Regions from separate parts of the Homo sapiens genome. Here region 2 is linked to region 1. The links are contacts of gene promoters, found by promoter capture Hi-C in blood cells and fetal thymus (Javierre and others, 2016). All regions are on one chromosome and are shown on one strand. The core of a region is centred on a gene start or on the middle of the fragment in contact, and the rest is flanking DNA. Distances in the headings are between cores, read along the strand shown.

Region 1 (3,082 bases), core at 407-2,906:
GAATTGCCTGGAGAGAGGCAGCCTGAGACTTGTTTGTAGCCAAGTGCATTTATACAAACATTTCCTTTTCTAATTTTGGAGCATCTTATTAAATAGTACAAAATCACCAAATTAAAGAAAATGTCTACAAAGACCTCATGAGAAACGTTTCCTTCTTTGCTTTCCAACAGTTCCTGAAAAACAAACGAACAAAAAAACCTAACAATCACACAATAAAATGCAATATTTAGTGACCATTATGACCCCTCAAGGCACTGCCTTGGTGCTTATAGGCCAACCCCTTTCAAGGAGTTACTTCAAGGCAATTCTGCAGCACCAAGTGTTAGCATTGCACCAAGTGGTAGCAACACACTCTCCTTTGAAAACAAATAAAAGATTTGCTGTAATTTTTAAAAACATAATCCTTTGAAAAAGAAGGTTGGATAGATTAGTGGTTAAACACCAATTTTAATATTGGAGAAACCTGAGTTCCAATCTCCACTCCATACTTTATAACTGTGTGACTTTGTCCAAAGTCCTGACGATTAAATGAAATGATGTGCCTGATATATAAAAGAGCATCACTGAATGCTCCCAATTATCGGTATTTTTACTTTAACCTTTTTCTTTTTTAGCTCCTTACTGCAGTGCACTGAGATATTTTTACTTTAAACTTCAACTTAACCATGCAGATCTCTTGTACATCTCTAACTCATTCAACATCTAACAGAAAAACTGCTCAATAAGTGATGATGTCCGTTTAACGTGCAGTGCCCTTATATAACGGTGTAGGGCCGTGCTATTTTTCTTCAGATTGCAATTTAACTGCGGGAAAGTGTAATGATTCTATTAGGATTTCAATTGTAAAATGAAAAGTAACGTCTCAACATCTTTTTAATTAAAAAGCTCTACCAAAAGAGCCTGGCTTATCAACATTTTACAGCCAAGCATGGCTCCAAGGTGACCGATCAGTTAGCTGGCAGGACACATTGGTGCCTCCAGGCTGGGATGACATCAAAGGTTCTAGCTACAGTGGTTCTGGGACGCGATCTCTTCCTCTTCATACCTCACAGGGCACTTTACCACTGTCGTTACACATCTTCACAGTTCTCCTTTTCCAACCAGAGGGCTTCGTAAGCTGGGAATCAGGTAGGTTAGTATCAGGCGTCCCTTGCACAAAAGGCCTATAACTGCGGGGCAGACTAACGAAAGGTCCTCCCAGAGTGAGCCTCTCACCTCAAGTCTTAAAGGACTTTGGCCTGCGCCTCCAGCCTCTGGCCAGTTGGCTGCGCTCCACCAGTAAGGGTTCTCGAGCCCCCGGGCAGCCTGCGGGGGGCAGCGAGGCGCAAAGACCATGCCCCAAGTGCCGAGGGAAAGTCCTGAGATGCGCGACTTGGGACGCTAGGGGCCAAGCTCCGACGCGGGGCTGGGTGCACCTGGACGCACCTCACACGCCGCGAGCTAAGCAGAAAAGGGAGGCAGGCTGCCCCGACACCCCACTACTCACCGCTAGGTTTCCGTCTGGCGCCGATCCGGCTGCGTCACGCCGGCCGAACGACACCCCGCTGAGTCGCCGCCGCAGGGAAGGTACCTTCGGCCCCAACGGGAAAAGCCAATTTCCAGTAATTCGCGCCCGACCACCGGGGAGGTAAGGAGCACCGGAGGCCAGCTGGGGGATGGGAAGCCTGCGTGCGGCACACCGAATCTCCCGCCCTGTTCAGGGGGCGGTGCCCGAGGAAGCCAATAGGAAGAGGAGTCGGCCAAGAGCGACGGCTCTGCCGTCCAGTCGGCGCCGGCCATTCGGCCCCGCCCATCAGGAAACCTGAGGAAAACGGATTCTTGGGCCCTGAGTTGTGGGCCTTACCTTTCCTTTCTTCTTTCCGTTTCCGGGGAAGGGAAAAGGAAGTGTTGTTTGGATCTGAGGAAGTTTGCACAGTAGCTGGCTGAGTGGTAGCTGTTTGTCTTGTAGCAATCTTTAAAAAGTGTTCTTTGGGGTCGGGCGCAGTGTCTCACGCCTCTAATCCCAGCACCTTGGGAGGCCGAGGCGGGCGAATCACCTGAGGTCGGGAGCTCGAGACCAGTCTGACCGACATGGAGAAACCCCGTCTCTCCTAAAAATACAAAATTAGCCGGGCGTGGTGGCGCATGCCTGTAATACTAGCTACTCGGGAGGCTGAGGCAGGAGAAACGCTTGAACCCGGGAGGCGGACGTTGCAGTGAGCCGAGATCGAGCCATTGCATTCCAGCCTGGGCAACAAGAGCGAAACTCCGTCTCAAAAAAAAAAAAAAAAAAAAAAAAAAGTGTTCATTGGTTTCCCAGCTACCTTTTGAAGAAAAAGGTAATGGAAATTGATTCGCATTTCTTTTTTAAAGATTTTCTTCATTTGGCGTGAAAGGTAGGATCTTGTACATCTCCAGGGTTTGGGGTAGGGAGAAGAAGAGACGTTAGGAGAAGCACTGAATATGGAGATGGGATCGGACGGCTAGTGGGATGAAGAGGCTGGGGAAATAGAATGAATAGACAGAGAAAATGATTGACTTCAACTATCCAAAATATAAAAAAGACAAGACAGAGAAAATGAGGAAGAAAAGGAATGAACCTGGATGGGATCCATACAGTATTAAGAACAGGGTATTGTTTCATTTGGATTCACTTACTCAAAACAAAACTACAGAGTACTCTGCGAACAGAAGATAAGTATTCATTATCGAGCGAGACAACTACGATCTCTGCATTCACTGTAGTTACCTAGCACGTGAAGATATTGAACGGACAATATTGAGAAAAATACCATGATATGGGAAGTGCATTGGAGCACATGGTAGGAGTAGCTAATTAAAAGCCCAGAAGGAGTCAGGAACAATTTTCTAGGAGGAAGAGATGTTTAAACTGAAACCCCTGTGTTGAATAGATTTAAAACAGGCCAAGAGGGGTAAAATTTTCCAGGTAGAAGGTCCAAATCCGTGTAACAGCTGTGTAAAATGCCAAGCATTGGGTCTGTTATTATGAAGGGCTTAGTTGGCCCTTAGGGCACTGGTCAGATTTGTATTGAAAGATCTTTGGATAAAGGAGGTAGGATTGGGAGGGAAGATATAGAGTCAC
Region 2 (2,990 bases), core at 403-2,902, 1.3 Mb after region 1:
ATCAAAGGAATTCTCTACTACTCTGATCTTGGATGCCCTGTTTCTTGGGCTTTCCCTCCTTTATCTCTGCTAAGTCATGCCACTCCTCCATCTACTTAGTATTCCCCCAAATTCTCTCATCTGCTATGGTCTTATGGGATAGGTGTGTATTTGTGTTTTCATTGCTTTACTCTGATTTTTAATAAGGCAAAGAGGACTAGGTGCAGTGGCTCACCCCTGTAATCCCAACTCTTTGGGAGACCAGGAGTTTGAGACTAGCCTGAGCAACATAGCAAGAAATATGTCTCTCTCTGTGTTTTTTTGTTTGTTTTGTTTTTGTTTTGTTTTTTTTGAGGCAGATTCTCACTCTGTCGCCCAGACTGGAGTGCAGTGGCGTGATCTCTGCTCACTGCAGCCCCTGCCTCCCAGGCTCAAGTGATTTTCTTGCCTCAGCCTCCGAGTAGCTAGGATTACAAGCGTGCACCACTACTGCCCAACTAATTTTTGTATTTTTAGTAGAGACGGGCTTTCACCATGTTGGCCTGGCTGATCTTGAACTCCTGACCTCAAATGATCCATCCGCCTTGGCCTTCCAAAGTGCTGGGATTATAGGCATGAGCCACCACACCCGGCATTTTTTTTTTTTTTTTTTTTTTTTTGAGTCAGGGTCTCACTCTGTTGCTCAGGCTGGGGTGCAGTGGTGCGATCTTGGCTCACTGCAACCTGGACATCCTGGACTCAAACAATGCCACCTCAGCCTCCCAAGTAGCTGGGACTGCAAGTGTGCGCCACCATCCCTGGCTGATTTTTTAACTTTTTGTAGAGACGGGGTTTTGCCATGCTGCCCAGGCTGGAACTCCCAGGCTCAAGTGATCCACTTGCCTTAGCCTCCCAAAGTGCCGCGACTGCAGGGGTGAGCCACCATGCCCAGTCTTCTCCCTATTTTTAATTGCATGTTAACCCTATCATATTTCATTAGAAGTCCCTTAGAATAGGCATTATTGCTATGTTGTGATACATCTGTTCATGAAAAGCTTAATACTTTGGAATTGCACTACAGTTAACAGGGTTGTGAAGAAAATAATGGTAGGTAGTTGCTCAAAACCTGTGCAACTTTGTAATCAGTACTGTCAAATAGTAATCCTAATAAAATTATTACCACAGTTCAAAAGACATTTTAAGCTAATATTAAAAGAAACACTACAGGCTGGGCACGGTGGCTCACGCCTGTAATCCCAACACTTTGGGAGGCCAAGGCAGGCAGATCACAAGGTCAGGAGATCGAGACCACGGTGAAACCTCGTCTCTACTAAAAATACAAAAAATTAGCCGGGCACAGTGGCGGGCGCCTGTAGTCCCAGCTACTTGGGAGGCTGAGGCAGGAGAATGGCGTGAACCCGGGAGGCAGAGCTTGCAGTGAGTGGAGATCGCTCCACTGCAGTCCAGCCTGGGTGACAGAGTGAGACTCCATCTCAAAAAAAAAAAAAAAAAAGGGAGAAAGAAACACTATAGGCCAGGCGCAGTGGCTCACGCCTGTAATACATCCCAGCACTTTGCGAGGCTGAGGCAGGTGAATCATGAGGTCAGGAGATCGAGACCATCCTGGTTAACACAGTGAAACCCCGTCTCTACTAAAAATACAAAAAAATTAGCCAGGCATGGTGGCGGGCGCCTGTAGTCCCAGCTACTCGGGAGGCTGAGGCAGGAGAATGGCGTGAACCCGGGAGGTGGAGCTTGCAGTGAGTGGAGATTGCTCCACTGCACTCCAGCCTGGGTGACAGAGTAAGACTCCGTCTCAAAACAAAACAAAAAAGAAACACTACAATTTAAAAAGGTCTATTTTAAAATTAAAAGGTGGGCATAGATTGAAAGGGTTGAAGCTGCTAAGCTAGAGTTAAGAGCAAAAATGCACAAAGGTTAGGGAGAGCTTTGTAATAAGCATTTCTAAGAGAGAACAAATAGTGAAACTGAGTCAAAAATCCAAACCTGGGTAAATCTGCATTGTGTATAGCAGTGGTTCCCTATCAAGGGCAATCAGATGTCCCCCCAGTAGGCATTTGTCTATGTCCATAGACATTTTTGGTTGTCACAATTGGAGGTGGGTTGGGGTCTGCCATGAGTATCTGGTGGATAAAAGTTAGGGATACTGCTAAAGGTCCTATAATGCACAGGGCAGCCTGTACAACAAGGAATTAGGCCCAAAATATTAATTGTGCTGAGATGAAAAAACATTTTTATACAGACAATATTGTTACTCCACAGCTTTCTGTTTTCAGATGTTAAGAGTCCTGCAAAGTTCCTAACTGGTAGTATAAAGCTTAATATGTGCTATTAAAAATTGCATGAACCAATATGGCTTTTTTTTTTTTTTTTTTTTTGAGGCGGAGTCTTGCTTTGTTGCCCAGGCTGGAGTACAGTGGCACGTGATCTCGGCTCACTGCAACCTCTGCCTCCCCGGTTCAAGCGATTCTCCTGCCTCAGCCTCCAGAGTAGCTGAGATTCAGGCGTGCCCCACCATGCCTGGCTAATTTTTATATTTTTAGTAGAGACAGGGTTTCGCCATGTTGGCCAGGTTGGTCTCGAACTCCTAACAGGTGATCTGCCCACCTCGGCCTCCCAAAGTGCTAGGATTACAAGCGTGAGCCACCACGCCCAGTCCAATATGACTTTTGTATTACACAGCTTATCCTATTTGTCATTCATACATAAACTCATTCATGTTACAGAAATAAAGGTCGTAGCAGCACATATAGTTTTTTTTTTTAATGTGTATTTTCTGTTCTCGTATGGTGCATTTCTACTTAGCTGATTTTTCTTCTTAGAAAAACCAATTACAGCTCTGACTACAGGCTGATTTGAGTAAAAACAAAAACAAAAAAAAACTTTAAGGTGTTAATTTAAATGCTTTTCCTAGATGCTATCTTGCTAATTTATTTTCCCCTTTCTTCCCAGCCTGTCTCGATATAGATTGAAGTTTAGCGCTGATAAAGTAGACACAATGATTGTTCAGG

Evidence for each region. The method cuts DNA at HindIII sites, captures the fragments that hold promoters and counts their contacts. A CHiCAGO score of 5 or more calls a contact.
Region 2: a fragment that was not itself captured here is called in contact with the fragment with the promoter of ORC2 in region 1 in 1 of 17 cell types (total CD8 T cells); the score reaches 7.9 in total CD8 T cells.

What each region holds. Positions count from the first base shown.
Region 1 is chr2:200,962,004-200,965,085 of GRCh38, forward strand. ORC2 (origin recognition complex subunit 2) reads right to left here and starts at 1,657. Exons shown (of 18, transcript NM_006190.5): 1 at 1,487-1,657. LOC105373835 (a long non-coding RNA gene) reads left to right here and starts at 1,429. Exons shown (of 3, transcript NR_187976.1): 1 at 1,429-1,627. RefSeq lists an enhancer at 890-959 and a silencer at 1,668-2,066. The HindIII fragment of the contact is 10,169 bases long and covers 1-3,082 here.
Region 2 is chr2:202,284,729-202,287,718 of GRCh38, forward strand. NOP58 (NOP58 ribonucleoprotein) reads left to right here. Exons shown (of 15, transcript NM_015934.5): 6 at 2,932-2,990. Among named protein-coding and RNA genes, the nearest start is that of SNORD11B, 5.1 kb to the right of the region's middle. The HindIII fragment of the contact is 1,283 bases long and covers 1,012-2,294 here.